Regions from separate parts of the Homo sapiens genome. Here all the other regions are linked to region 6. Evidence: promoter capture Hi-C in 16 types of primary human blood cells and fetal thymus (Javierre and others, 2016). All regions are on one chromosome and are shown on one strand. Each heading gives the region's core, a stretch centred on a gene start or on the middle of the fragment in contact. The rest is flanking DNA. Distances are from core to core; before and after follow the strand shown.

Region 1 (2,700 bases), core at 53-2,552, 2.9 Mb before region 6:
TAAATCAACTAGAAGTTATTTAACATGAAGGCCATTTTTACTGTTGGCTATATTTTAAATGTCTGAAGTGTCCATTCAGAATTTTAGGGATTTCCATAAATACAACCAGAAAGACAGTGAAAGATAGTGACAAACCAATCAGTTAGGATGCCTTCATCATTCTGCCTCAGTAACAAATAGTTTAACTGCATCTAACTCTGAAGTTCATTTTAAAGTTTTACAATCTAAATTCAGTTACACTCTGAATGAACATCATTCAAGCATATAGGACAGTCATCTGAAAAAAAAGAAACAAGAAAGATTAGCTCCAAGTCTAGTAACATTAACAACAAGATGCTAGTTCAATTTATTTTAAAAAAAGGTATTAGTATAAATGATAGAAGGTATGTCACTATCCTAAAATTTAGAATTCATGATAGTGGATACTATTTGCTATGTATTCATATTTTCCAGGTAAATCAAGGAACGGCAGCTAGCATGCCTTATTTCAATATTTGTAACTCCAGTGCTTAGCCCTATCCTCAAATACGGTATGTGCTCAATAAGTAAATACAGTAACGATGTGTATCATTGAATCCTCTTAACAACCCTGAGCTATATGATATCTTCTTAACATAAATAAAGAAACTGAGGCTACAAGGATGGATCTGGGCCAATCTGCATGTAGTGGCCTAGCATAACACCTTGCCCTAAGCCACGAAGCTAGTAGCATTGTCAAAATCTGACTTCAAAATTCATATTCTTTCAATTATACCATGTCATCTAAACATCAGATACATAATTATTAAACCCAAGAGTTATATTATTCTTCCTAAATTATTTTCCTGCACTATTGCTTGTCAAAGAAAAAAATCTTCAGAAGCTATTGTCCCTCCAACGTTCTGCAGTAGACATTTGATGGTTGCCACTCTAGTCTTCATTCCCTACATCCCAAGAATTCTAGATTTCAGATTTGGGAACTCTATTTGGGGATCCTTGTGACAATGAAGTCAGGTTAGAACATGTGTCCAGTTGTGGCATGATCTAAGCTAACCCAATCAGAGGGAAATGCAGAACTTCTGAAAGTATTGGACCAACGACATAATTAAGGCAGTATACCCAGGAGCTGGGGACAACCATGCTCGAATGAGGAAAATCTAGGCAATATTATTAAGCCACTGTATAGTTTTACTTTAAAATCAATCAATAAACCCTTCATATTTTTAAACCAATTAGATTCCGGTTTTGAGTTACAACCATAAAATCCAAAGTGACAGATTTTTATTAGGATATTTCTTATTTAATATCTTTCACATACAGTACTGTTCCCTTACTCATGGCATGTCCTCTTCCTTGATGCTTCTCATCTATAGGGCACTTGCTATATACCAGGCATTACGTGAGATGTTTAACATACATTATTTTTAATACTGAAAACAAATCTACATCCAAAACTTACAAGGGAAATCTTATCCTCACTGTTTCATATAAGAGAAAAATCAAGCTCAAATAGATTGAGTGACATTCTCAATACCGTATAACTAATACTTGGAGTCAGGATTCAAAGCCATGTGTACCTAGCTCATAAGTACTTGATCTTTCAAACATATGAAGCAGAATTTCTCGTTAAAGGTCTTTGCTCAGGCATCAACTCCCAGAGAAGCTGTATCATTTACATATTTCCTGGCTATCTCATTCACAGAAAGGAAATACTACAATATATTGTAACTCTACGTTTACATACTTACAAGGCACGCTCCATAGAACAGTTAAGATCCAGGTAACTTATGACACAGGACAAGTAGGCAATAAATATTTGTGGAATGACTCAATAGAGAAATGAAGTCCTATCTGCCACAGATTAAGTTCCATTAAGATAAATAATTGTCATTATACTGAGATATCCTTTTATGCACAATGTTTCTGAAATGTGGTATCTAGGAAGAAATTTGAAAATATGTCCTTGATATTACACATTTGCTGCTGTACTTACAGGGACTACACAGAAATGTCAGAAATCCGGAAGTGTAAATATATGTATTTTTTCCAAATCAAATACTTTACATGGATTAAAGGACCTGTGTTTAGTAAAAGCAGGACATACATCTTAACCATGTAATAAAAATCAAATACAATTACAATTGTTCTATTGGCTTCATTTTGGAACCAATATTGTCCAACGTAAGTAACAACTTTCTAGCTTAACTCCTTTTTCTGTAAATGAAATGCATGAACCAGGCTACCTCCTTGATATCACCTAGCTCTGTGATTCTGTAGTAATTCGAGAATATTATTAACTGGCAACTTCTCAGAGTGTCTCCCTGGCCACACAGCCTAAAAGTAACCATGAGCACTCTCCTATCAAACAATTTTCATGTTCAGCATAGTACTTGCCCAAGACATTTTTCTTACTTTTGCATCCCCACTGGACTGTAAGAACCAAGAGAACAAGACTTTGCTATATTTACTGGCACACCCCAGGGCCTTACACAACCTAATAGGCACCAAAAAAAATGTCTGCTGAAGAAATAACACTCATGTAATACTAATAATGCCTCTTTGCCCAACTTTAAAAAGCAAATAGTACATACTAGACATGTTCTGCATTTTCTAAGTTTTAAGAAATCAATTTTCCCACATAAAGTATTATGTGCTTTGTATTAATCTTACAAGCAAAGGTTTTAAAAATACTTAGTAACTGCCACGTTGTTAGTAACTTTA
Region 2 (2,700 bases), core at 172-2,671, 2.3 Mb before region 6:
AGCTTAAAAAAAAATCCGTTTTAAAAATCAAGATTTTAAAAAAGTAACAAGAATTCAAATTTATATTTTTCTCATCTTAGAATGTATTCTATATAAATAGAGAAGCTGAGGAACAAAAGCACCCATACCTTCTCCAACTTTCTCCTACCAGGGCCAGGCATCTGGCTGGCTAGGATTCTGGCTGGGAGGACTTTAGGGGATTGGGGAGTTGCAAGGCGTTCCATGCTTGGCTTTCCTTCACCCCCAAGCCCTACCCTGCAAAGCAAGGTTTACTCTGAGAGAGAATTCACAGAGAGGCGAAAACTGCTTTTCTACCTTTTAAGAATTTCTAGTATAAAGGATCACTATCCCTGTGTTTTGCCAGATCACTGAAAGCTGCATGGTCAGTTCAGGTCATTTTGCCTTTGTAGAATGACGTTTGCAGATATAATCTAACATTAGAGGCCTTGACATAGGTCTCACCCAAAGAATCATCTTCATATTGTTGTGAAGCACCATTCAGACAATGTTTCTCATGCAAAATCTCATCAGAGCTAGAAAAAGCTTAAGTTTGCCTAATAAATGAATATGCTTTCCTCTGCTGAGAGCCACTCAACCATTTGGGTTTGCTGTTTTCTTTCTTTACTACAAGCTTGTGTCTTATGTCATCTAAAGCAGATACTTTTTGGAAATGGGCAAATAATAAAAATATATGTCAATATTGAAAATGTTAAGTCAATGTAATTCAGAGAAGACCTTAGGGAAGTTTCTTCACCCCAGCCAGGCTTTGAAAGATAAAAAGTGGATGAAAGAAAGGTATTTTAAAGAAAGAAAATAGCATGCATGTGCTGTTACCATAGAGACATAAAATACGATAATGTTTAGGGAAGTAGAAGTAACTAGTATGCTCCATTCTGCTCCACTATAATGCTTGTTTTGAAATGAAAAAATTTGCTCAAATGCAACTTGTATATTAGGGAATAATTTGAGCAGAAGTGCAAATTTCACTTTTGATGCATGCAGAAAACTGCACCCTGCTGAGGCAAACTGCACAGAAATTCACAAAATGAACAATTTTATACATTTCAAACATCTATCAGTTACCCCAGTTCACAGAGTACATTATGAGCTATACCTATCCACATGTGCAGTTAACAACTTTCCATTCACTACTTGACAAAACCCTCCTTCCACTACTTGACAAAAATTCATAAGCTGCAATTCTGACAACTACTTCCACAAGCAAAGGTCAGGACTTTTGAAGGTAAAATGCCACATTTACTTACATATATAGTACTTACATATTTTTTAACCATTTAATAATGGCTGATTGTCATTCATTATTATCCCACTTCTACTCCATGTTCTCCATGTTTTACTCTTACATTTCCTTTTTTTTTTTTTTTTTTGAGATGGCATTTCAATCTTGTTGCCCAGGCTGGAGTGCAATGGCACGATTTCAGCTCACTGCTGAGCTGAATCACTCCCGGGTTCAAGCAATTCTCCTGCCTCAGCCTCCTGAGTAGCTGGGACTACAGGCACCCGCCACCATGCCTGGTTAATTTTTGCAGTTTTAGTAGAGACAAGGTTTCACCATGTTGGCCAGGCTGGTCTTTAACTCCTGACCTGAGGTGATCCACCTGCCTCAGCCTCCCAAAGTGCTGGGATTACAGGCGTGAGACACTGTACGCGGCCTACACTTCCATTCTTTAATCAAACCTACAAAAGCTGGAAGTTTTCATTACTCAAATATTCAAAATACCAAATGCTTTTAATTTTCTCAGAAAAATCAGAATTAGAGGGGATAAATTCTCTATCAAATATGCCCCTATTTTTCCTTTTCTGATTTCTCTACCAAAAGTTGTTTTACTATCCTTCATACAAACTTTAAAAATGAGATTCATTTAATTTTGGCATTTGTTTATTTGACTGCATGTCTTAAATGTGCCAAGGTTTCAAGTCTGATTATAGTTATTCCAGGACACAAGCAACACTGCGTTTGGCCAGATGCTTTTAGTAAGATAAATACATATAATATTCACTGTGAGTATATAATCCTGACCACCAATTTCAACAAAGAAATAATGGAAAAATAAAAACAAGAACCCAAGATCAGATGTTCTGACAGCACATGCAGCTCAATGAACAAATTGCATTTACATTCATTGTGCATGTTTCACTTTCAGACAGCACACAAGGTCAAACTACTAACTGTCAGTTACAATAAGCTTCTAAACTTCTGGTCAATTACCTGGCTAATAACAAAAGACAAGGCTATGACATCATTATGGTTATAATTAATTTACACAGATCAGCTTCCTGTTAATCAAATATATCTTTAAAAGCATTTAATTATTTTTCACCTAGAAAGCAACATTCAGCTTTGTTAAATGAAAAGCAATCTTGCTGAATTTAACACGAAAGGCTGTCAGGCTGCTCTAAGACATAAAGAACAAATGGCTTCACAGGGCACACTGCTGCAATACAGGAGCTGTTGCCACATTCCCAACAAACAGAAGCACAAGATGATGGATAATACAACACATTTTAACAGTTTCAGAATATAAAGAAGTTGTCAGGGAACTGAAAGTAAAGAGATGGGCTTTGGGAAAAGAAATGTCCCAGTGCTTTTTGCCAAAATTATATACAAGGGTGGCAATATTAACATATGCAGCATAGGACAGCAGTTAAGGGCATGGTCCTTGGCTCTACGATACACCA
Region 3 (2,700 bases), core at 76-2,575, 2.2 Mb before region 6:
CGAGCAAGGTCACCTGGGGGAGTGGGGCAAGTCACCATGTGGCAAAGGTGGGATGAGTCCTCTGCCATTCTCAGTTGACCTATAATAAATTGTACATAGATTAGCTTTACTTTTGCTTTTATATCAAGATGGAAAAATTGCAAAATGAAAACAACAGTAACATTAGTTTTACAACCCCCAGGGATGTGTTTAAGCATACAGCTGGCCCTTGAACAACAGGGGTTTGAACTGCATGGATCCATTTATCCACGTTTTTCTTATGCCTCTGCCTCCACTGAGACAGCAAGACCAAGCCCTCTTCTTCTTCCCCCTCCTTAGCCTACTCAATCTGGAAATGATGAGGATGAAGATCTTTAGGATGCTCCACTTTCACTTAATGAGTAGTAAATATATTTTCTTTTCCTTATGATTCTCTTAACATTCACTTTTTTTTTTTTTTTTTTTTTTTTTGAGACGGAGTCTTGCTCTTTTGCTCAGGCTGGAGTGAAGTGGTGTGATCTCGGCTCACTGAAACTTCCACCTCCCTGGGTTCAAGCGATTCTCCTGCCTCAGCCTCACAAGTAGCTGAGATTATAGGTGCCTGACACCACACCCAGCTAATTTTTATATTTTTAGTAGAGACGGGATTTTGTCATGTTGGCCAGGCTGATCTCGAATTCCTGACCTTAGGTGTTCCACCCACCTCAGCCTTCCAAAATGCTAGGATTACAGGCATGAGCCACCATGCCCCGTCAATACTCACTTTTCTCTAGATTATTTTATTTTAAAAATACAGTATATAATGCAGATACAAAATATGTGATAATCTACTGCATTATCAGTAAAGTTTCTGGTCAATGGTAGGCTATTAGAAGTTAAGTTTTTGGAGAGTCTAAAGTTATATGCAGATTTTCAACTTTGTGGAGTTGCCACTCCTAATGCCTGCATTGTTCAAGCATCAACTATATTTTGTAGTTCTATAGAGATTCCAAGAGTTATGTTATGGTTTTTACACTTTAGTAAATTGTGTGTCCCACCAATGACATGGTAATTTTATGTTACATTATTATTATATTGTTGGGTATTGATGTATTTTACATAAGATTTTATTTCACATTTTCCAACTTAAAACTAGGTGTTGGTATTGATATTTGTCTTTTGCAGTAAATTACCTTACATTAGTCTTTTAAAATAGTTTTTAAAAAGGTGAAAGCTATTATTTGTTATTTTGTAAAGTTTTAAATCAGTAAAGACTAATAAATCTAGAAGTAGATTCCTAGATATAAACTTTTGTCTAAAATATTTTAAAATATTTGGTTTAAAAATTAGGACATATCTTGGCAATTTTTCCTATTAATATGAGTGTCTCTCTCTCTCCCTCTCTTTCTCAAAATCTTAAGAATGTTTAGAAGTCTAATCTTAGAGACAAGACTAAATTGCATAGTGAGACTAAACATAGCATCCACTGTACTTTAGTATCTCTGTCCTCATAGGAATTTTTCAAGTTAAAGTTATTTAGGAAATATAAAATATGTTGCCATAATTATCCCTACAAACTCTACTAACCTACTGTACACATCTGAGTATGTTGAACTTTTGTGATTCCACTAAAGAATTCAGTCAGATCATAAACATTGTGGGCATCTGCAATCAATGTTAATATCTTATACATAACACAAACATGATGCTAGATCTTATGTTAATTCCAAGTCTTCTTCTGACTTGACCATCAGCAGCAATTGACTCAGTTGTTCACTCTCTTTTTCCTGATATGGTGTCTTCCTGCCTAAAAGAGAGCAACTTTACTGGTTGTTCTTCTGTCTCCCTTGCTGGCATCTTTGTCCTCTTCTTTTGTCTATCTACTTTCTCTTTCTTGATGATTTTATCCAGTATCATGGGCTTTAAATCCTACTCATAGGCTGACAACCTTTACATTTATACCTAAGCCCAGACTCATCTTTTCAACTCTGGTTTATATACACAAATGCCTACTTGATATCTCCACTCGGAGGATCAATAAGCACCTGAAACTCAGCATGTCTAGAACCAAACTCCTGATCTTCCCCCATCTTCCCCATTCCTGTTCAGCCACAGTATTTCAATCTGTGGTAGTTTAAAACAATGACTACAAGTTTTTTTTTTTTTGACACTACTTCCATCAAGAACTGTGGTCTAGGTTCCCTGCCCTTTTATCTGGGTGGGCTCATGTCTACTTTGATCAATAGGATACATACAGTAGAAATGAAGCTCTGACTTCTGAGGTAAGGTCATAAAAGGCTACACAATTTCTGTCTGATTCTCTTGGAACACCTCCTCTCTAGAAGCTCCCTCTTGGCATGTTAACTCTCGAGATGGTCTCTCTTCAGACACTCACCTTTGAAATCCAGCCTCCACGCTGTGAAAAGTCCAAGTCACATGGAGAGACCGGATGTAAGTACTCTAGTTGATGTAGCCTTCAGTCATTCTAACGCAGGTGCCAGACACATGAGTGAACAATGTTTCAAATGATTCCAGGCTCCAGCCTTTCAAGTCAAATAGTCCCACAACCATTTGAGCCATCCCAGCCAGGACACAGACAAGCCATCAACACTGTGCCCTGTCTGAATTCCTGGCCCATAGAATCCTAGAGCATAATAAAAGAGTTGATGTTTCATAATTATTCCTTTAGAGTAGTTTCTTAACCCAGCCATAGAAAACTGATACATTGTCTCAGTTGATGGT
Region 4 (2,700 bases), core at 130-2,629, 2.4 Mb before region 6:
CCGATGTACATCAGCCTTTGAGAACCATTGAGCTACAGCTCGGATTTTTCTTGCAACTGAACATATCCACCCGAGTTTCATTCTGGTATTTATATCTGCCAGCAGGTGGAACCAGAGGCCTATGACATTAAATCTGCTGAAGAAAACTAGGACAAATTCCAGTCAACAAAGCATTCCGCATCGTAAGCAGAATTAGGGTTATTTTGAAACAGATGGGCGCTACAGAGGCTGCTGCATTGAATATTATGGAGTTGTTTATTGTCTAGATGGCCCGAAACCCAGGAGTTATTTGCCAGCATCTAGCAGTTTCTATGTCATATCAGAATTCTTCCAGAGCAGAGGAGACTGACAAGGCACTGGGAGAGATATAGATACAGATATGGATATGAATGTAGATAGTTTAACCAGTTCTAATCCTGAATTTCCTCCTGCTATTGTGCATGCTGCCTCGTGTTAGTGAGTGCTTTGCAGGAATGATCCGGAGCCTCCTAAATATGCTAACTCCAAATCAGAGGAGATAAACAGACATAATCTATGGTAATAAGACAATCAATCCTGGATGCAGTAATACTCAAAATGATCTATGTTAGGCCTAATCAGGTGGTACTGGTTACTGGCTCACATTTTCACTCAAACCCCCCACTTGTACTTGCCCCCAATCCTCCTCTTTGCTTCTGCCCCTCCTCCCCCTCCCCCACCCCAACCCCCAGGAGAGCATCAGAAGGGCGGAAGTGAGATAAAAGGCCCATCTAGCTCTCATTCTGACTGTGCCTGATGCCTGGTTCAGAGTGCACACTGCTGTCTAAGGACACTCAGAACTTGGTTTGACTTGGGGGTTTCTCTGGCCTAGCACTGAGTGAATGTACAAGACCAGGGCTTATAAATTGAGTATTCCATGAGTTCTAGGAATCTGCAAAAGTCTCCAGCACCAGTGGTTCCTTTCAGGAGAATATTTCTAATTCCTTAGCCTACGACCCCAGGGCGTTAGCTGTTGCTGTTCTGCCTGGTCCGCCTAGGCTCAGAGAGGTCACGAAGGCTGTCATGGACTCAATATTTGTGTTCCCTCAAAATCCATACGTTGAAGTCCAAACCCTCAATGTGATGGCATGTGGAGGTGGGGCCTTTGGGAGGTAATTAGGTTTACATGAGGACATGAGGGTGGAGCCCCCGTGATGGCATTGGTAAACTTATCAGGGAATGAAGAGGCCAGAGCTTGCACTCTCTGCCAATGTGAGGTCACAGTGAGAAGGCAGCCATCTATAATCCAGGAAGAGGGACCCCACTATAACCTGATCATATTAGTACCTGGAACTTCTAGCCTCCAGAACCGTGAGAAATAAATTTCTGTTGTTTAAGCCACCGGGTCCATGGTAGTATTTTGTTAAGGTGGCCTAAACTGACTAAGACAGCATCTTTGAAGTTGGCAGCTTGGCAACTGGTAGTTCAGCAGGTGCTGGCTGTCACAGCTGCTGGGCAGACCCCCAGTGATCAGAGCGGTGAACAGATGTGCTTTCTGGTGGAGAAGAAAGCACATCTTTCTTGGGACTCTGTCCTAAGTGGTGGCTTCATAATTGCCGGAGACAGCAGCTCCCTCCCTCCAAGGGACACAATGCCAGCTGCATGGCTCACCCTCCTATACGAGCAGGGACAGTTCCTCCATTCACAAATAACAAGATCCCCCACACCATTGCGTTTTGCCCAGGCTCTCAAATCTTCTGTTCAGCTAAAGGTATAAAGAAGCATTTTTGATAATATTTAGACCTGTTTTATTTTTTTCTCACTCCCTTCCACTTGAGTTTCAAACCAGAGAGATGGCCCAATTTCCAGTCCTTCAAACCAAGGATCAAGGGAATGTTTTCATTGACTTTTGAAATCAAAGACCATTTGAAATTAGCCAACATTTCCCTCAGAAACCTCAATCTTCTTAAAACACTCCTTAACCTTTGCACGTGAAAAAAAGTACAAGTAAACATCATCCCAAGCATTCAAGGAATAAGGAAAAAAAAAGACAAGCCAGTGGGAAAAGAACTTTGAAAAGGGACAAAAAGTTGGCAACTTCTGCTGAGAACAACCATCCCCGAGTGGTCAAGTTTAGGTCACCCTGGACAACTACTGCAGATAACCATGTGTCTTGTAAAACAAGGCTGTTGGGCCTGGGAAAAGAAATGGATTGAGGTGGCTGGCCCCTAGGCTAGGTGGCCTGACTGACTAGCAGCAAATAAAGTGAACCACATAACTGGCCCCAGGTCCCACAGCTACCCAATACTTCCGTGCCACATTCCCGCAGAAAACACAGCATGCTTCGAAGGGCTAAATACTAGATGCTGGATTTAGAACAGTGATTCTCAAATCCACGTCGGGGAGCTTGGTGAGAGGCAGATTCTAGGGTTCTAATGGAAGATTCCAGATCAATGTCTGTTGGGGGACCCAGAAATGTGCATTTTTTAACATGCACCTCAAGTGAGCTGGATGCCCACATGCCCCACTTTGAGAAACTCTGATCACAGGAATGCCATAGTGTGTTCTGTGGTTATGTTTGCCTTTGACCATTTGCACTAGCATGGCATTTGGTTTAGTACAAGTAGGTTTCTGGTGACATTTACTATGAGTCAAAGACTGGTAGTTTCCTAGGTTATGCTATGCTCAACCTTGGATGATGTAGATTTTAAAAGATAAAAGTGCAACCCAGCTATCCTGAAA
Region 5 (2,700 bases), core at 167-2,666, 2.7 Mb before region 6:
ATCTGCCCACCTCAGCCTCCCAAAGTGCTGGGATTGCAGGCATGAGCCACCGCACCCAGCCAGTACCTCATTTTTTTATGGCTGAATAAGAGTTACTATATGGCTAGATGATGTTTTGCTTATCCATTCATCAGCTGATGGATATTTTACTTGCTTCCACCTTTTTGCTATTACAGACATTTTTGGATATCATGACTTGGAAGACGGTAATGGCATCTTGTAGATAGAGATCACAAATGTTGCAAACATTCTACAGTGCAAAAAGGTGGCTCTCACCACAACAAGGAATTTTCCAGTCCAAAATGCCAACAGTGCTGAGGTAGAGCACTATTGCTCTACCTCATTCTAGCATCCACTGCAGAATGATACAGAGCAAATGTTCTGGGGATCTCACTTTATCGATTCTGAGTTAACACCTGAATGAATCATCAATGTTATCAGTACTCAGGCCCTTACTGCTTCTCTATTTCAGTCAATTTCTAGAAGCTACTAGAACCCTGGCTCCCTTACCCCTTCCTCCCTTGCTCACTGCAGTTGAGTGCTTCTTGAAGGCTACTGGACCCTTCTATAAGCTTGTATAAACTTGAAGTCCAAACCATCATCTTTGCTTTCAATAAGCAGCTGGTATTAATCTCAGAAACTCGTCTTTCATTTCAGGATCTGGCTCCTGCCACAGGATTTTAAGTCTCTCCTAACAATAACATTTATATATATTGAGCTTTTAACACGAATTAGAACATGCATGATTACATTTAATTCTCATAACAATCTCATGCACTTGGCATTATTCTTATCTTTATTTCAGAGATACGCCCTAGAACTGTTAAATAACTTGCCCAAAGTTATGTGGTTAGTAAATGGCAAAGTAGGTCTTCAAAATTAGTTCTAATTCTCACACAAACTTTTTTACCCCAGTGTTATACACTCTGAACATCTATCACATTTGACTAAATATCACAATTAATGCAGGAATGAACCCCGTAGAGTCTTAAAGCCTGGGTCTACTGAGGGAAATCCCGGCAAACTTTCTTCACTCACTCTTAAAATAATCAATCAGGGAATTGCTTGGGTTGCTTTCAATTAGGAGAAGCAGAAAGACCAACAGAAAAACCCGAAGAATACAATAAGGAGCATTTCTTTCCTGGCAAAATCGTCACTGTAAGACAATTATTTTCACAGGTATAATTCCCAAGGAACTTTGGGGAGTTAGAAAGCTGGGCCTTAAACTGGGAGCACACTGGATACTTTTGTTTTATGTAACCATCTTGGTAACTTTCATTATTTTCTGCTATTAAAGAATTTTGTATCTTCTGCATGCGTTGATGTCTTTCCCTCACTCATATCATTGTCCTGCTGAAACCAGACAGACAGCAAACTTTTTGAATGCAGGAACTATGTCTCATTAATTCCTATACTGCATATAGTATCTCAGAGATAAAAGTTAAAAAATGTTTGTTAAATAATACAATTCTGCAAGTATGTTAGTGCCTTTCTGTCATGTAAAGGCTCAGATTTAGTGCTTTTCACCAAATACCTAGAATATCCAAACTAACTGTGAGCATATTACCTCAATTATGTCAGCAGAAACTTACAATCTAAGAACCTAATCCTAGAAAATTGCATTGCCCTAGACAGTATGGGTGCTTTACCCTCTTTGGAAAGTATTACATGCAAAATGAAACCAGACACAAGCAGTACCATTATTAATAAAAACATATGTTTGCACATTGTCTCATACTAGCTTCATGACAACATGTTAGAAGTTCAAAAGCTATATGAAAAAGATGTAACCCCAGCAATCATCACGGCAAAGCAGCTTCAAAGGTTAGCTGTAAGTCAATGACAAAGGCAGGATTCGAACTCTGTTACTAACACCTTGTTAGTCTACACTGCTACATTTAGGTCAACTGGCACATTAACGTGATGCAGTAGAGTAGCTCAGTAGAAACTTTTAATCAAGTAGCGAGAATGGGTAGTGTCAAGCGAAAAAGGGTTTTCTTTGCCCTGTTTGCTAGACTGATTTTATAACAAAGTGATACATTTACTTCTTATTGCTAAACTTCCCAACATTTTCTTATTATTTAACAAGTAACACCTACCCATAAAGGCTCTTTCTTCAAACCACAGGAACTTAATAATACTTACCACAAAACTTACATTTTTCCTAAAACATAATATTCAAATTTTAAAAATAGCATAATAACTTATTTGGCACATTTGTAAATTAGAATTATTAGTAATGTTCCATATGGAAAGCTTTCATGACATATTGCTAAAGATATGATAAAGCCTCTTTGCTCTTCTCTTTTACCTTTGTCTACATTATTTCAAATTCCGGTGATACTAAAGTTCTACTTACTTCTTCATTTTGAGGGGTTGTAGGAGGTCTTTCTAAATCCAGAAAATCTAGTGGTCTTTCACTCAGCGTAAGTACACGAGGTGGTGTTTTCAGTGCCAGGGGTTTAAAGGGAGTTGACTGAATAAGGTCAAGATCTGCTGGTCTTGAAAATGAAACATCTTCATTATTTCCTAGGAGTTTTCAAGAAAAGAGACAAAGAAGAGAAAAGCGGGAGGTTTTTTAAAAAGACAGTGATTTTTGTTAAAATGTATTTACCTTCTTCTGCTTTTGAATTATACCACCCAATAAGCATTAGTTTCTTTCAAAATATGCTTCCAGGCCGGGCGCGGTGGCTCACGCCT
Region 6 (2,700 bases), core at 130-2,629:
TTAGTCATCAGGATTAAGTTAATTTAGGGCAAATTCAACCTTACAGTCAACAAATAAGTGTATTTCACTTTATATTGTTTGCTATTTAAAAGTATTAAAATTCCAGCTTCTAAATGTAGATATCCATCCCCCAAACATATGCTTCTTTAAAATAGGAAGAACACAAACTTTAATAAGAACTCACGTATTCCCTTGCAGAGTCAGAAACCCAAACATAACAGCAATTGGGCAAGTAGGTAAATGAGGAAGTACAATTCATAACAAATGGACAGCAAAACCGATAAGTCAAATTAGACATTTTGACTATAAAGCGACCAAACGCCTCTCCTCCAAAACCAAAAGCCAAAACCTTTTCAAATATACAGCAACTGAATCAGACGGTAATTTTGGCTTTAAAAATCTACAATACTCTTGGTAATGGTAGAAATGATTTATCCGGTAGGTTAAAGATAGGTTTCTATCATTCCACTTAACATTATTTACCAAATGCTGCATTTCATTAATGGAGCTGTCAGTTTATTCTGATGGTAATGAAAAACAGGTTTTAACATGAATAAGCCCTGGGTCCACCAGAAAATATCAGTGAATCAAGAGGTCCCGAAGCTTATGCAGTTTAAGGGAACTTCGTAGATTAAATTTCCACCTTCCAGTCCTGAGAGCTGTGGTGTGCACACCCAGTCCGAATACCTTGTTGAGCATACAGGACACTAATTTCCGACACTGCAGCTAACTCCTGCACAAACTCTTCAAGTTGCAGGCTTCTACTCAAGTACCCATCCCTAGTCCACATGCCCTAGAAAAACACAGGAACCAGTTCGGGACGTAGTTACACATCTAGCACCCCACGCTCCTCCTCAAGACTATCCTCCTGCTGTCCCAGCCCAGTGGGGCCCAGCCCACTACCATCCCGCTCCCGCTCTCCGAACTTCCCCCCTCCCACTCCCCACCATGTGACCAGGACCCTCCCAACCGCCGCTCCGAGCTCCACCAATCAGCAACCACCTCCACCCAGAACCCGGGACCTGGCGCTCCACTTTCAAAAAGGCAGCTTAATCCTCCCGCCCTCAGCCACGCCCCCTTTCCGCTTCCCCGCCCCGCCGGCCCCTCCCACTTCCTTCAGTTCCCTGTTCCCCTCCTCCCCTCCGGTGGCGCCCACCCTCTCCCGGGCTTCGCCCCGCCCACCAGGGGGGCAGCGCGCTCGCCCTCTTCTCGCGAGATCTGAGCGTCCCCCGCGGCGGCCGCCGGGCTCCCCCTCCCGTCCTCCCACCTCCCTCCCCCGGCATCTCTCACTCTCCGGCTCTCCTCCCTCCCTCCTCCCCCCTCCACCCTCTGGGCCGGATCTCGTCTCGCTCAGGCGGAGGAGGAGAAGGAGGAGGAGGAGGACGACGTTCGGCCTGCGCAGTGAGATGTTTGTCCGTCGCCGCCGCCGCCGCCATCGCGGAGGAGCGCGATAAAGGGAGCCGAGCCGGACGTGAGGGGGACCCCGCGGAGCCGCCGCGCCAGCGCAGCCCCCCAGCCGCATCGGAGTCGCCAGAGTCCGAGCCGCCGCCGCCGCCGCCGCCGCCCCCGCCGCCGCCGCGGCTGCCCAGGGGCCGGCCAGCTCCCCAGCCCTGCCCGGGGGTCGCGCCGCCGCCGCCCCCAGCGTCGCCCCTAGCCTGCCTGCCCGCCTTAAATGTGACACCGGCGTCGCGGAGCGCGACCTGAAGCCGCCGCCGGGGAGGGGACGAGCACCATGTCGAATCTGAGCAAAGGCACGGGCAGCCGGAAGGACACCAAGATGCGGATCCGGGCCTTTCCGGTGAGTCTCTCCTCGGCGTCCGGGACCCCGGGGCCGGGGGCCGGGCCGAGAGCCGCACGCGAGGCCCGGGCTGAAGTCCCCCAACAGGCCGCAGGCCCGGCCTCCCCTCCCCCACGCCCGCCGGCCGCGGGGCGCGAGCCTTCCCGGCAACCGGGCGGCGCGGGGCCCCGGCGCGGCCGCCCTCCCGGGCCGTTCCCCGCGCCGGGAGCCCGGGCCTGGCGCCGCGCCCCCGTCCGGGAGCTGCTCCTTCAGCCGCTCCGCGGGCGTCGGCTGCGGCCGGGGCCCCTCGGCCGCCCCACGCCTCCCCACGTTGCCGGGGTTGTAGGCCCAGTCTCCGGCGCTGCTAGCAGCCGCGGAGTCCTCCCTGTGTGGGGCGTGTGTGGAACTTTTCACGTGGGGTTTCGCTACACTTTGAAAATTTACCCAGCCTAGCTTTTAGGGTGATGAAGGGGCTGCCCTCTCTCTCTGCCCCCCTCCCCAGGAAGGTCTATGCCATCAACCTGCCCCCGACGCAGTGACAGTGGTTCCACGGAATGCTCCGTGGTCATAAACTAGTAACATTGGGTGTATTTATAGCGTCTTTCATCCTACAAGCTTCCTAAGCACTTTACAAACTCTTGTGCAGGATTGCCTCGCCACTCGGAGGAAGGCCGGGTGGGGGGGAAGCAACAGAGAGCAAACCGGCCAATTGGTTCTCCATTTCTCAGCCTTGGGAGCCCAAAGAATGAGTGTAGTCGCCTTGCGGAGTAGCTTTGTTTCATCGCTTTCAGTGACAGCAAACGTGTTCTGCTCAGAAACTTTTTCTTTTTTGGCATTACGTTGAGTCGTACCCTTGCGATGTTTAGTATATAGGATATAACTTTGGGTGTCAAATCTGGTTCAGCTTCCCCGTGGCAAGCAAT
Region 7 (2,700 bases), core at 178-2,677, 2.2 Mb before region 6:
GATTAGTTAGTTGAGCCAACACTGCTTTTCCAACCCTGTGTTATCTTGACTGTTGAGTTGCCAATATATTCAGAAGCTCCGACCTTTTTTGTCCCTCCATGTGGATTTCACAAGTCATTAAAATAGTCTGTTGCCTCTTAAGAAACTCCACGGACTTATGCTTTTCCAATCCTCTCACTATAATCAGATATGTGTCTTAGCTGAATAGTATATAAATGGTTCCTTTTATTTTGATGGGTTGGTAATTTAGTATATTGGAACATTTCACAGTTTTAAGGTTTTGTTTTGTTTTAAAGAAAGCCATTTCCTCAATTATTTCCTCATGTTACAAAGTTACTGGAAATTGTATTCAAGGAAAATAGCTTCTTGTGAATCATGCTTGAAGCCAGTTTCACACTAAAGATCCTGTAACTTTTTTTCATACTAGTATTTTTTTGCATGTAAAATAATAGATCCTGCCTCTACCACATTTATAATTATGTAACTGATTTATTCCTTCGTTACCTTATTAGTCCATAGCTATGCAGCAGACTTTGAGAGCTGTCTTTAAAATGTTATTGAAACATGTTCAGAAAGTGTAATCATATTGAATTTTAACTTAAAATTACATTTTAACGTTAGTATGATATAATAATTGCATACTAATTTCAAACTAATATGACATAGTTACAAAAATTTATTGTAAAGCTTTTTAAGAAGATAGGTTAGTAAGTATCATCTATTTGCTTCTATTTTTGTCTTATACTTTGGAAATGGTAGTACCTCTCCCATTCTTAATTCACAAAAAGGGAGAAGATGGATTGGACAAGTATAAGGTACTGTCATGTATGATAAAAGGAACACTTTCCATTTTAATAGTATTCTTGCAGCAGGCTCTGCTATAATCTATTTGTTGAAATAAATTTGGTTGGATAAATGTTATTTGTGCTTATTCAGTGAGCCAGTGATCTTTGAATAATAGAGCTTTGAAAAAGATGTATTTATGTTGAAAAGGCTTTTTGACCCTTTTTCTGTATTTTCCATTGATAATGGCAGTAGAGTTGAATACATGGGTCAGACTATGATTCTAGTTGCAGTTTTCTTAAAGCAGAGTAGAGATTTTGTGGTTTTATTACTCTACCAGGAATGTTTTATTGAGTAAGCTGAGTTGGATTGCATTCATTGTATTCCTTTTTACCATCCCAAGTTTTATAAATATTGCATATTACATATGTATCCTTGCACTCCACTTTTATTGTTGACCAAAGAATACTTTAATGCATGTTCTCTGATCCTCCCTGACATATTTAGGTCATATTGCTGAACAATATCACTTAATCTTGAGAAGTTTTCTCACGTTTGTTGAAATGATCAAAGAGACGTTTTTTTTTTTGAATATATGTAATGTGGCAAACAAATTATGTTTTGCACAGAAAGTCATGATTTTTACTTTTAGGAAGGATATGATCTAAGTGAGCTAGCAAAATAATAAAAGACATTTATAAACATTTAGCAGTTAGTTAAAGGCCACTGGAATATTGAGTAATTGCTAAGTAGTCAACTATAATTTATCTAATCTTCTCCAATCATCATGTCCCTATTCACTTAAAAATTATTTGGAGGGCTCTATGGATATGAAAAATAATTATGTTTACCCTTGAGTTTTAGGGGTTGTGGGGACAATCAGAAGATCAGAAGATCTTTAATTGTCTTTAATACTATTCAAGCCCACCACCCATTTCTCAACCCTAACATAAATTATCTGCTTTTGTCAAATAGGCCCTAAGCCATTTTTTCTTGTTCTTCCCCTCCCCTTCTTTTACTCAGTAAGCTCTATTGAGCACCTATCATGTTCCAAATAGTACACCTTTTATTGAAAGGGGATGAAGGTAGATTCATGGAAATGGAGGGAAAAATGGTACTGAGAGGAGATCACCAAAGGAGTTACCAAATTTCTTATGACATAAGTTATCCGGGAAAACCAAATCAAGATTCCGATTGTGTAGTTCACAAAAGTTGGCATTTTTCATAAACCTAAAGGGCAAAAGTGCCCATCTAGCTTAAAGGTTTGTATTTTTCTGAATCTTTCTAACCATGGCTTCCTGTCTGACAATACCATCAGCATACTAAATAATCAGGAAGGAACTCTCATTTGGAAGAATGGCCCATTTTTGGATATTAAGCTTGCAAACATAATATTGACAAAAAGCAGGAAAAAAGATATCTTTGCTTTGGATCTTTAGTCCCAGTGAAAGCAACCAGAAGAAGAGGCATCCAGCTGTTAAATGAAGAGGGGTTGAATGTGGACTTGTTATGGGGTGGTCAGTGTTAGGAAACCTGGGGGGAAAGTGGGGGCTACAAAATAAATTTTAAAGTCTTTTCTTGCTATCTTAGCTTTGTTATTCAAGGACTTTTTTCTTTTTTTTCCTTTGGGTGGGTGGTTTTTATTTTTAATGAAGAAAAGGTCCAACACTTTGAACTGTGGTTCCTTGCTTGCTTCTGGCTGCAAGTATAATTGCTTTTGAGATTTTTCTCCCTCTGTTTTGATGATATGCAGTCACGTTTATTTTTAAGTTTGTGGTAGTCTCTTACAGAAACATGTTTTAAAAGTTTTTTTTTTTTTTTTTAGACTACCAAGTTTTATAATAGCTTGCTGGGTCTCTTCACACTATTTTTTTCTCTGTATTTTTGTATAGGTGATACATGTACATGCTGTAAGTT

Evidence for each region. The method cuts DNA at HindIII sites, captures the fragments that hold promoters and counts their contacts. A CHiCAGO score of 5 or more calls a contact.
Region 1: a fragment that was not itself captured here is called in contact with the fragment with the promoter of CUL3 in region 6 in 4 of 17 cell types (non-activated CD4 T cells, fetal thymus, naive CD8 T cells and 1 more); the score reaches 6.4 in non-activated CD4 T cells.
Region 2: a contact is called between a fragment that was not itself captured here and the fragment with the promoter of CUL3 in region 6, in 1 of 17 cell types (non-activated CD4 T cells). The highest score is 9.0, in non-activated CD4 T cells.
Region 3: a contact is called between a fragment that was not itself captured here and the fragment with the promoter of CUL3 in region 6, in 1 of 17 cell types (naive CD8 T cells). The highest score is 5.1, in naive CD8 T cells.
Region 4: a contact is called between a fragment that was not itself captured here and the fragment with the promoter of CUL3 in region 6, in 1 of 17 cell types (fetal thymus). The highest score is 6.0, in fetal thymus.
Region 5: a fragment that was not itself captured here is called in contact with the fragment with the promoter of CUL3 in region 6 in 1 of 17 cell types (non-activated CD4 T cells); the score reaches 6.0 in non-activated CD4 T cells.
Region 7: a fragment that was not itself captured here is called in contact with the fragment with the promoter of CUL3 in region 6 in 4 of 17 cell types (naive CD8 T cells, non-activated CD4 T cells, naive CD4 T cells and 1 more); the score reaches 8.1 in naive CD8 T cells.

What each region holds. Positions count from the first base shown.
Region 1 is chr2:227,473,656-227,476,355 of GRCh38, reverse strand. All of the region lies in intron 1 of AGFG1 (ArfGAP with FG repeats 1), which reads right to left. Among named protein-coding and RNA genes, the nearest start is that of AGFG1, 2.8 kb to the right of the region's middle. The HindIII fragment of the contact is 3,002 bases long and covers 1-2,700 here.
Region 2 is chr2:226,845,436-226,848,135 of GRCh38, reverse strand. All of the region lies in intron 3 of RHBDD1 (rhomboid domain containing 1), which reads right to left. Among named protein-coding and RNA genes, the nearest start is that of RHBDD1, 11 kb to the right of the region's middle. The HindIII fragment of the contact is 1,576 bases long and covers 634-2,209 here.
Region 3 is chr2:226,808,291-226,810,990 of GRCh38, reverse strand. It overlaps a transcript of RHBDD1 not described here. Among named protein-coding and RNA genes, the nearest start is that of IRS1, 9.8 kb to the right of the region's middle. The HindIII fragment of the contact is 6,682 bases long and covers 1-2,700 here.
Region 4 is chr2:226,982,927-226,985,626 of GRCh38, reverse strand. All of the region lies in intron 8 of RHBDD1 (rhomboid domain containing 1), which reads right to left. It also overlaps a transcript of COL4A4 not described here. Among named protein-coding and RNA genes, the nearest start is that of RHBDD1, 150 kb to the right of the region's middle. The HindIII fragment of the contact is 3,318 bases long and covers 1-2,700 here.
Region 5 is chr2:227,332,248-227,334,947 of GRCh38, reverse strand. MFF (mitochondrial fission factor) reads right to left here. Exons shown (of 9, transcript NM_001277062.2): 4 at 2,360-2,529. Among named protein-coding and RNA genes, the nearest start is that of MFF, 8.3 kb to the right of the region's middle. The HindIII fragment of the contact is 1,684 bases long and covers 575-2,258 here.
Region 6 is chr2:224,584,042-224,586,741 of GRCh38, reverse strand. CUL3 (cullin 3) reads left to right here and starts at 1,379. Exons shown (of 16, transcript NM_003590.5): 1 at 1,379-1,798. The coding sequence starts at 1,733. RefSeq lists silencers at 906-1,325, 1,656-1,915. The HindIII fragment of the contact is 1,789 bases long and covers 606-2,394 here.
Region 7 is chr2:226,786,692-226,789,391 of GRCh38, reverse strand. The region is part of intron 1 of IRS1 (insulin receptor substrate 1); the gene reads left to right. Among named protein-coding and RNA genes, the nearest start is that of IRS1, 12 kb to the left of the region's middle. The HindIII fragment of the contact is 1,475 bases long and covers 690-2,164 here.